Regions from separate parts of the Homo sapiens genome. Here region 2 is linked to region 1. The links are contacts of gene promoters, found by promoter capture Hi-C in blood cells and fetal thymus (Javierre and others, 2016). All regions are on one chromosome and are shown on one strand. The core of a region is centred on a gene start or on the middle of the fragment in contact, and the rest is flanking DNA. Distances in the headings are between cores, read along the strand shown.

Region 1 (5,769 bases), core at 1,789-4,288:
TATGCAAATACTACACCACTTTACATAAGGGACTCAAACACCTGCAAATTTTGGAATCTCGCGGGATCCTGAAATCAACCCCCGACAGATACCAAGGGATGACTGCACCCGCGTGCGCGAGCACTCACACGCGTGTACAAGTAAAGTGGGGAAATCTGAATAAGACTGGTGGATTGTATCAATGTTATAATAATGAACCATGGTTTTGCAAGGTATTAGTGTTGGGAAAACTGAGTAAAGTGCACTGTATTATTCCTTAAACTACGTGATTATTACAGTCTTCTCAAAATTAAAAGTTTGATTTATTTAAAAAGTGCTAACACTTGGCCGGGTGCGGTGGCTGACGCCTGTAATAGCAGCACTTCGGAAGGCCGAGGCGGGCGGATCACTAGGTCAGGAGATTGAGACCATCCTGGCTAACATGGTGAAACCCCGTCTCTACTAAAAAATACAAAAAATTAGCCAGGCGTGGTGGCGGGCACCTGTAGTCCCAGCTACTTGGGAGGCTAAGGCAGGAGAATGGCGTCAACCCAGGAGGCGGAGCTTGCAGTGAGCCGAGATCGCGCCACTGCATTCCAGCCTGGGCGACAGAGCGAGACTCCGTCTCAAACAAACAAACAAAAAAAAGTGCTAACACTTGAGAAAATCTCCATATGAACCAGATATTAGACAATATTAGAGAATGATTGTTATAAGTATACAAGACGATGTCCTTATTCTTAGGAGATGCTTGCTTAAGTATTTAGAGATGAAGTTTTTTGTTTTTGTTTTGAGACAGTCTTCCTCTGTTGCCAAGGCTGGAACTGCAACCTCCACCTCCCGGGTTCAAGCGATTCTTGTGCCTCAGCCACCCTAGTAGCTGGGACTACAGGCGAACACCACCATGCCTGACTAATTTTTGTATTTTCAGTAGAGACAGGATTTCACTACGTTGGCCAGCCTGGTCTCGAACTCCTGACCTCAAGTGATCCATCTGCCTCAGCCTCCCAAAGTGCTGGGATTACAGGCATGAGACACCGTGCCCAGCCTAGAGATAAATTTTACATCTACAACTTACTTTTATACAAATGTATATATACATATACATAGGGAGAGAGAAAGCATATATGGCAAATAAATATAAGTAAAGGTTTATGAGTGTTCCTTGTTCTCTCAACTTTTCAGTTTCATTTTTTTCAAAATAAAGAATTGTGAAAAAGAGATTAAAGATAAATTGCTATTCTAAACTTATGTTACAGTTCTACCTGCACACCAATTAGTCTTTTTAAGGGTTTAAAAGTAACTTTTTTCCTAAAACTATTTTACAGCTCCACCTACACTCTTAGTCTTAAAACAAAACAAAATTCCAGTAAGAATTTCAAGGTAACAGTTTTGCGACACTGCATGTGACTTTCTAATGTTTTTCAAAATGAATTCACTAAATCTGTAGGGCATATGGACACTTTTGTAAAATCAAAGTTAGTTCAAATGGATGATTATTCATTTCTAGAAAAACTGAATCCCCAGAGTTGTTCTACTTTTCAAACAGGTGAAATAAATTATAACTGCGGGGGAAAAGGCTAACACTTTCACACACACATCCCAAATTTTAAAAGTCTTAAATTTGGCAAATACAGTTAATTCTATCATAAGGAAACGTTTGCGTGAAAGGGGGAACCCACATACTAAATGCCAAACAAAAAATGTGCTACAATGTGTTAATTATAGCTCCAAGGCTACAGGACATATTTTACAATGTAAACAGTCCCTGCAAACATCAATGCATTTATGGTTTAAAAAAATACAAACTGCACACATTTGAACCGTAGGGAATAAGTCTGAGCTAGCGTCAACAAAATCCATCTCAAAAGTTCTTATATTCTCATTTCTCTGGTAAGTTTTTGCATGTGTTAATATACTTCAGTGTATAAGAAAAGTCTAGGTCTGCAACGTTTCAACTAAAGACTCAACTTTTTACTTCCTACCGAACCGCCCCCTCGCAATGGGCCCCACCTCCCGAGAAGAGTGACGGGGTGGGGCTGTTTCCCGCTCGGAAACTAAGAAATAAATGCCTCATCCCTACTCCAGAAACGAGAACAACGGAGGCAGAGGAGCTGAAGACTCCAGTATGCAACTGACTACAAGGAGGTAGTCGTTTGAAAAGCTTTCTTTCCTTCTCTGAACTCCTTCTTTCCCTCCTCTCAGGTCATTGGGTGACCCCGGGCCGGGCGGAGACAGGTGAATCCCAAGAGAGGAGGAAGAGGGAGGGACAGATGATGGAGGGAGAACCGCGTTTAGGCAATGAATGAGCCTGCTGCATCCGCACCACCTGTTCCTTCCAAGGGTGCCACCCCGACCTGCCAGCAGGGTTCCCACACCAACCGGGCCGCGACTCCTGCCGGTGTCGCCCACTTGCCCGCCAAAGGCCGGGCCTCTTCTCCCCCAGATCGGGGAGAATGAGAACCGGCAGTCTAGAAGCCGGGAGGTCGGGGCCTAGTCCGGAACCAGGGCCTCAAGCGTGGGGATGGAATGAAGAAGCCTGTGGTCCCTGGCGCGCGGGCCATAGTAGGAACCACAGAGAGGGAGCAAAGCAATGCATTCGGCCTGACGAGAGCTATGAAGGCGGGGTCCCGGGCGGGAGTGGCTCAGTGCCCGCCGGGCCGAGGTTAGGGGTGACAGGCCCGGTTACCGGCTAAATCCTCCCCACCGCTTGCCCGGAGCCTCACACTTACCAAGATCCGCTTGAAGAGCGCATTCTCCTTGGGCGGGAGGCTCACGGCCGGCATCGTTCCGGCTGCTCCCGCTGCTCCCGCCACCACCCGGCTCGGTCAGTCAGTTTGTCCGACCGCCGCCGCTGCCGTTCCGTAGCTGCTTCAGCCTTGAATATCTCGATCCGCCGCCACCACCAGGCCTCGGGTGTCGCCGCGTTGCCCTACCCGGACACCTCCTTTTTCCTCGTTGTCTTTTTTCCTTTCTCACTTAACGCTGCCGCCGCCTCCCCCACTACGGGTCTCCGTCGGCGGTTCACGTGGTAACTGAACAGACCGACAGAGGCAGCCAAAATGGCGGACGCGGAGGGTTTTCCCACCCGGGTCACGCTTCCTAACACGCAGGCGCGGTGACCTCCTTTCCCCACCTCCTCTGGGTTTCGGAGCTTGCCGGGAAACCTGGAGGCTGGCCTGCCTGTGGAGGCCGGGAGGGTCGGGGCAGGCCCCGCCCATCATTTCAGTGCGTGGTACCCTCGAAGCGCCCGCGGAGCTACGGGAGGCTAGGCAAGTACGGTTCAGACCGCCTCCTCATCAAAAACAGCCTCTCTGGCGCCTTCCTGCTAGATCGACCTTTCATTCCTTGGAAAGAGTCTCGCACACTGTGTGATCATCGTTTGAGCCCAAAGTGCTAAAATACAGGTGTAGGTGTTTGAGAAGCGCTGTAGTTGATTATGGACGAAATGCCTAATTTAAGGAGCAGAGGCGGAGTGGAAAATGAAAAAAGCTTCACCGCAGTGGAGACTTGTTAACAGCCCTGGGGAGAAAGGGGCTTAACAGAGTCTGGAAATCGTGAAAGAGCTTGACCGATGAAATGGGCCTGGCTGTCGTATCGGTAATTTGGTGAATGTTGCTTAAGATCAGCCTGGAAAGGTAGTTAGTCAGATCCGAAGTGACATATTTGCACTGCCAAAGGAGGCTCTGGAGGTTAAAGTATGTGTTTTAATTTCGTTGTTGAGGCCATATAATGCAGAGTTGACGGACCGACCTTATGAGTCACCTTGGAGCGGAGTAGTGGAGACTTAAAGACAGACTACCCTGGAGCTGGCTTCAAACTAGTTCTTAATATTGTGACTCGAACTCCCCATCCCCAGAAATTCTCAGATCTTAGAAGCCAAAGACTGGCAAGGATACTAGAGGGAACTACTCGAGTAGGCGAGGTCAGACTACATACCGAATAGGAGTCCTTCCAAAAATGTAAGTCATTTCATTAACAGCTGACCGTAAAACTTTTTCAAAGTGGCATTCCATTGATCTAAAAATTTTCAAGTTATATGAGCCACTTTTAACCTTTGGTTTTTGATTACCTCTTTCCAAATCCTGATTTCACTCTGTAGCATTCTTTGCATCATGAATTATTAAACAATATGTGCGTGTTTTTTACTGTTTTAAATTTATTTGCAAAGATATTTTAATTTTCAAACTTCTCTTAACTGTCCCTGAAAGGTGTGAGTTGAGATACATGTTTCCCAATATAAACTTGGGTTTTGTAGCTGCTATATTGATTGTCCTCGCCCTTCACCGGGGTCATAAATAAGGTTTTTAACAGTCAAATCCTGGAGTTTCCTTAAATTCTGTGATCTCTCTTCAAAAGTTTGAGAAAAATCATATATACAGGAAACTATGTTTCAGTTTGAAATATGGCCAGTATTTTAACCTTAACTTTATAAAACTAAGAACAAGCTTATAATTCATTTTTAAGCTGTTACTTAGTAATAACCTGCAAAATTCACTGCCCCAAGAGATCTTTCAACTGTCTGAACTATTGAAAGACAGAAAAAATAGTCTAAATGCAGTTGATAGTTTTAGCTTGGATTTCCAAATCTCTGGCTTCATATCCAAATTTCTGGCTTCATATCCAAAAATCCCTACAGCAATACTATTTGCTATAGTTCTCTAAATTTCTCCTGTAAAGAATATTCTATTTTCCTTCAGAGGAAGAAAATTTCTGGTCTTTGAAACAATCAGTAGCTTCCACCAGAACCTGAGTACCTGATTAGATGAGCCAGAAATAGAGTTTGGCAAATGTTACATTCTTTTTGGGTGATGACAAAGAAATGGCAATTTTAAAGGCTCGGCAAATACTAGTCTGATTCAACATTTAACTGATTCATTTGCTAGTTAAAATGCACCTACAGATAACAGTCTGACCACACAGTAGCCTGAATTGAATAAAAAAATATATATTTACTCTGATCACCACAATTTCACAAATAGAGATCCCATTTGAGTTATACTGTAAGTAACAGCCATGCTTTCAGAAAGTTAACATATCCAAGGCTATATGCTGCCGCTGCTGCTGCTGATGATAGTTAATTCATCTTACCCCATGTGCTTGCATGTCACTATGTTCCAAATGCTAACTCTAAAAAATATTAACCAAAAAGAAAGAAATAAAATCATTTACCTTGCAAACTTTAATTCTACAAAAGGGATATGTTGAGTGAAATTTCTCCATATATGTAAGATGTTCTCTATTGAGACTGTTACATCTTATTAAGTACTTGGATCTTATTTAAAAAAAAAAAAAAGGCTGGGCTTGGTGGCTCACACCTGTAATCCCAGCACTTTGGGAGGCTGAGGCGGGCGGATCACAAGGTCAGGAGTTCAAGACCAGCCTGACCAACATGGTGAAACCCCGTCTCTACTAAAAATACAAAAATTAGCCGGGTGTGGTGGTGCGTGCCTGTAACCCCAGCTATCCAGGAGGCTGAGGCAAGACAATCGCTTGAACCTGGGAGGTGGAGGTTGCAGTGAGCCAAGATCGCACCACTGCACTCCAGCCTGGACAACAGAGTGAGACTACATCTCAAAAAAAAAAACATAGGCCAGGCATAATGCCTCATACCTATAATCCCGACACTGGGAGGCTGAGGCAGGAAGATCGCTTGAGCCCAGAAGTTTGAGACCAACCTGGGCAACATAGTGAGACCCTGTCTCTACAAAAAAATTTTAAAATTTGCCAGGTGTGGTGCTGTGAGCCTGTAGTCCCAGCTACTTTGTGGGCTTGGGTGGGAAGATTCCT
Region 2 (5,769 bases), core at 1,187-3,686, 4.2 Mb before region 1:
CAATATATGGGGAAGATAGGTGGTGCGATGTAATCTTTTCCCCAAGCATCAAACATGAAAATTAAAACGTACATTCTCCTTAAGTGTTAACAAATATTCAGCACTGATTTTGTATACTGCCTTAGGCAGCCTTCAATGCAGCTTAAGGGCCTTGTGCATTCATCGCCTACAAAATTTAAATACATTGTAGTCTGTTTGATAACGAATCTGCATACTACAGTAGATTACCTGCCCAGTACAGGGTCTTTTTTATCTTTTTTTATTCCTCATATTCAGTATTCTCTAAATGTTTGTTGAGTAAAGGAGACACATTTTTCGAGAGTTGAGGTTTGAGCTAACTGGTTATGTTGAATTCCAAACAGAAGGGATCCCCTTTGAATATATAGCCTGCAAATTTTTTAACTAATGGAATGATAATTCTTAAATGGACATCTGGAAAAATGTCCCCACTCCACTAGAAATGCTAGTTCTTAGACTATAAGGAAATGTCTAAGGATATATGCAAAGATGAATACCTACAATGATGTTCATCATAGTCTTCATATATGACTGCAAAAAGCTAACAACAGTAGGCTGAATCCAGTATTAAAAGTTAGGTGTTTAAAACTGTCATACACCCAGAAAATGAACTATTAACCTTTAACAACCATTAATGTAGAATAATGGTTGTTTTGTGTTGTTTTGTTTTCAGACAGTTTCTGTCGCCCAGGCTGCAGTGCGGTGGCATGATCTCAGCTCACTGCAATCTCCAACTCCCAGGTTCAAAGGATTCTCATGACTTAGCCTCCGGAGTAGCTGGAATTACAGGCGTGCACCACCACGCCTGGCTAATTTTTGTATTTTCAGTAGAGACAGGGTTTTGCTGTTTTGGCCAGGCTAGTCTCAAACTCCTGGTCTCAAGTGATCTGCTCGCCTAGGCCTCCTAAAGTGCTGGGGTTACAGGCGTGAGCCACCGCACCTAGCCAAAGAATGTTAATTTATAAAGTGTTAACTGAAAAATTTGGTTTAACAGTTCAAAAATGTAGATAAAAGTTGGAAGCATATTTACAAAAGTATTGAAACTGATCGTTGCTGGTTTTTTGTTTTTGTTTGTTTGTTTGTTTGTTTTTTGACAGTGGCTTGCCCTGTCTCCTAGGCTGCAGTGCAGTGTCACAGTCGTGACTCACTGCAGCCTCAGCCTCCTGGGGTCCAGCAATTCTCCCACCTCAGCCTCCCAAGTAGCTGGGACTACAGGTGCATGCCACCAAGCCCAGCTAATTTTTGTATTTTTTGGGTGTAGACAGGGATCGCCATGTTGCCCATACTGGTCCTGAACAACAATTAGGGCTCAAGCCATCTACCTGCCTCAGTCTCTTAAAGTGATGGGATTACAGGTGACAGCCACTGTGCCAGGCTGCCGAATTTGCCTATTATTGTATTAAGAAAACTTTTTTTAAAAAAATTTCAGCTTTACTGAGGTATAATTCACAAAATTGTATATATTTAAGGCATACAATGTGATGTTTTGATATATAAACACGTTGTGAAATGATTACCGCAATCAAGCTAATAAGCATATACATCACCTCTTATATTTACTGCCTGCCAGCATGGTGAGAACATTTAAGATTTACTCTCAACAAATTTCAACTATGCAAACAGTATTATTAACAATAGTTACCATGCTGTGCATTACATCTCCAGAAATTATTCATCTTGTATAACCAAAACTTTGTATCCTTTGACCAACATCTCCCCATTTTTAGAAAGCTTATTTTTAATTTTAAAAAATGTTCTTTCACCGAAAAAAAATTATGTGGAAGGGTAAGAAAGTGGTGTCTAGGGTGGAACCTGACACATACTTAATAAATACTTGATGAATAATATTTTTATATTTACATTAAATAGACTAAAACATTAATTTAGCATTCGAAATGTTTCTTCACTTTTTATAGTCTTAGGTAGAAATCTTGGGTCTTGGTCTGGAAACCCTAAAGTTATATGTAGGTATATAAATGAAAGGATCTTAAGTCTGATAACTATTTAAGGAAAGCAATAAATAGCAAGGAAAACAATGCACATAAATAAATAAAAATTGCCTCCAAAATGGCGATTGTCTTTTAACATGTGCATTTACATGTGAGTTTCTCATATGATCATATGAAAGCTGTATTAGAATCATTCGGGGGAAAATTATAGAGAAAAGATGGAAACTAGCAAGAGGACACAGAATGCTCGAACTCAGTTATCTAGCATAAGTGACAGAGAAAAAGATTTTTGGCAGAGTTTAGAACCAGAAAGGAAAAGCAGAGAAGAGCTACAGAAAAGACATGAAGCCTAGAAACAGCTACAGGGACATTAGCTGTGTTCCTCAGGCAGATAGCAATACTAATATGGTGGCCAAATCACAAAATCCTGCTAAAAGGCTAAAACTAGCAGCTAGTTGTTGAATTGATCACATAATACAGAATTCATGTGTTGGTAAAAGAGTGGGTTGGGGAGCAGGCAAGCCTAGATTCCAGTGCAGGCTCTGGAACTTAGTAGCTGTGTGAATGCAGACAAGTTATCTAACCTCTTTGAAATCAATTTTCTCATCTTTTTATTATTATATTTTCCTAGCTTTATTTTGAGATAATATTATGATGTCATAAAAATTAAATGAGACAGTATAAGGTACATGATACAGTGCCTGACATATAGTGAGTTCTGGGTTCAAGTGTTAGTCTTATCCTTGAGAATCATAAGCCTAAGGTTTAGAGTCTAGTTGAAAGAAGAGGAACCAAAGAAGGAGGAGGGTAAGGGGTTTGGTAGCAAGAAAACACCAGAAAGGATTAGAGCTTTAGTCGTATTCCCAGCAACAGAATGCTACAGTGTAAAATAATGTTAGTGTTCTATCTCCAATATGTATATACATAGTTTACACCTAAAATTTCCTCTGTTAGATTTAATGTGCTAGAACAGCAAGTACAGTACAGAAATACAATGGAACAAAGAGATGTTGCCAGAGGACAAAAATGTGCCGAAGAGCCAGGGCTCTCTCAGCATTGTGTCCTTGAATGGTAACAGAAAGGAGTTAAAGTTTTCTCAAGGACAAAGAAGAAATGCAACACCTCTCTTCATTGCAACTCATTTTGTCAAAGCTTAAGAAAATAAAGTCTGATTACTGCAAGACAATAAAACTGTATTGAGTTTGTATCTAAGAATGGGTATTTCCAACACCAGATACCAATGATTACATGTTGTATGTATCTTTTTTAGAGTTCTCCCACATAGGTCATTTGTCAATGTACAGAGATTTCAGTTAAAGAGAAACATTAACTGTACTGTTAATAAACAGGTAAGGATATATTCCCTTCATTCCCCTCATATTTAGTCACCAACTAAATAGTGGGAGACTTTGTGTCTGCTCGGTATATATGCATATGTTTATGTAGTCAAAGTTTTTCAGGTTTTCTCTGCATTTCTTCCTGCTCATGAAAAAATAATTTCTTTTTTGTTGGGCTGGTTCTAGGTAAAGTATTTCTAGGAACTCAAATATTATGATCCAAAGTTAAATTTTAACCACCATCTTTGAAACATTTTTGAAATAATAAACTACAAAGCTTCAATTAAGAAATTAGAGTTTTTTTATTTAGTTTTTATCTCATTTATTAAAAGGAACTTCAGACAAAGGAAATTAGGCAGTCTTTTGCTCAAAATATTGAAAGTAAAAAGATGGAAAATATATATCATTAAAACAATAGCAAAAAGAAAACAGGAGTGGCTATATCATTATCAGATAAAGTAGACTTCAGAGCAAAGAAAATTATGAGACAAAGAGGGACATTATATAATGATGAAAGTGTCAACCCAGAAGACATAGCAATTTTAAATGTATATGTACCAAACAACAGAGCTGCAAAATATGTGAAGCAAAAGGTGACAGAACTGAAATTAGAAATAACAAATCCACAATTATATGTGGAGACTACAGCATCTCTCAACAACTGATACTACAACTAGGCAGAAAACCAGCAAGGGTATAGAAGAACTTAACAACAGCCAATAGGATCTAATTGACATTTATACAACACTGCACATATTTTTTTCTTCTACAAAAGTAGGACTATACACATTCTTTTCAAGAACCCACAGAAAATATAGCAAGATAGACCATAAACCTTAACAAATTTAAAAGATGTGAAATCATACAGAGTATGTTTTTTAACCACAATGGAGTCAAACCAGAAATCAGTAACAAAATGTTACCAGGGATATATTCAAACTAAATGACGTGCTTCTAAATAATCCATGGGTCAAAGAGAGGTCTCAAGAGAAATCAAAAAGTACATTGAACAGAATAAAAATACAATATATTAAAATTTGTGGAACACAGCTAAAACAGTGCTTAGAGGGAAATTATACACTAAATGCTTACATTCAGAAAAGAGAATAGTCTCAAATGTAAGCTTTCACCTCAAAAAACTAAAAAAAGCAGAGCAAGGATAAATCCAAAGTAAACAAAAGGAAGGAAATAATAAAGGTAAGAGCAGGAGTCAATAAAATTAAATACGGAAAATAAAAAGCAAAAACTGGTTCTTTGAAAAGATACGTAAAATTGGCAAACCTCTAGGAAGTCTGACAAGAAAGGAAGAAAGGAAAAAAAGAGAGGGTAAGAAGGAAGGAAGAAACAAAGCTCAAATCACTAATATCAGGAATAAAACAGGACCTATCATTGTAGACCTTGAAAACATCAAAAGGGTAGTAAGGAGTACGACACACATAAATTTGACAACTTAAAACCACTTCCTTGAAAAATTCAAGCCACTTAAACAGTATAAAAAGATCATATGAATAGCACTGTAACTATTTAGGAAATTAAATTGATAAATTAAAAACTCCCAAAGAAGAAATCTTCAGGCACAGATGGTTTCAATGAAAAATTCTACCAAATATTTAAAGATGAATTAATACCAATTCCATACTATCTCCTGCAGATAATAGAAGAGGATGATACACTTTGTAATTCATTTTATGAAGGTGCTTTATCTCTAATACCAAATCAGACAGACACTACATAAGAAAGAAAATGACAGACCAGTATCACTGATGAATACAGACAAATCCTTAACAAAATATTATCAGATACAATTAAACAATGTGTAAAAAGAATTATGCACCCTGATCAAATGTGATTTATTCCAGATATTCAACACTGATTCAATATTTGAGTATTAGTCAATGTTGTCTGCCATATCAACAGGCTAGAGAAGAAAACTCACATGATTATATTGACTGATGAGGAAAAAGCATTTGACAAAATTCCAACACCCATTTAGAACAAAACTCTCAGAAAAAAAAAAAAAAAGAGAAAACAAATAGAGTGGAACTTCCTCCTCTTAATACAGAGCATCAGCAAAATACCTACAGCAAACATTATACTTAGTGAGATTGAATCCTCTCCCTCTAAGATCTGAAACAGGGAAGGTTTTCTGCTTATAACATTCATATTCAACACAGTGCTGAAAAGGAAAAATAGAGATCACTGAAATTCTCTTCAAACTGACATAAAACTTTTGTTGAAAATCAGAATAATGAACCAATTTGGCCAAATACAAATTTATATTTTTCATAATCTTTAACCATAAAGTGGAAGTAATGCTAGTTTATTTGATCAATAAATCAGTATAAATTTAGGAAAAACATTCCCAACTAAAATTATTATAGGATTTTATTATACTTAATATTGATAAATTAGATAAGACATAGATGATTTTATTAAAACAAAAATATTAAATTAGTCTTGTTTGC

What was found. The method cuts DNA at HindIII sites, captures the fragments that hold promoters and counts their contacts. A CHiCAGO score of 5 or more calls a contact.
Region 2: a contact is called between a fragment that was not itself captured here and the fragment with the promoter of NAA15 in region 1, in 1 of 17 cell types (naive CD4 T cells). The highest score is 6.5, in naive CD4 T cells.

The regions. Positions count from the first base shown.
Region 1 is chr4:139,298,774-139,304,542 of GRCh38, reverse strand. It overlaps NAA15 (N-alpha-acetyltransferase 15, NatA auxiliary subunit), which reads right to left and starts at 3,038. Exons shown (of 20, transcript NM_057175.5): 1 at 2,712-3,038. The coding sequence starts at 2,765. It overlaps NDUFC1 (NADH:ubiquinone oxidoreductase subunit C1), which reads left to right and starts at 2,066. Exons shown (of 6, transcript NM_001184989.2): 1 at 2,066-2,127. RefSeq lists enhancers at 2,988-3,047, 3,528-3,647. The HindIII fragment of the contact is 1,328 bases long and covers 2,146-3,473 here.
Region 2 is chr4:143,507,089-143,512,857 of GRCh38, reverse strand. No RefSeq gene overlaps it. Among named protein-coding and RNA genes, the nearest start is that of SMARCA5, 3.7 kb to the left of the region's middle. The HindIII fragment of the contact is 1,370 bases long and covers 1,752-3,121 here.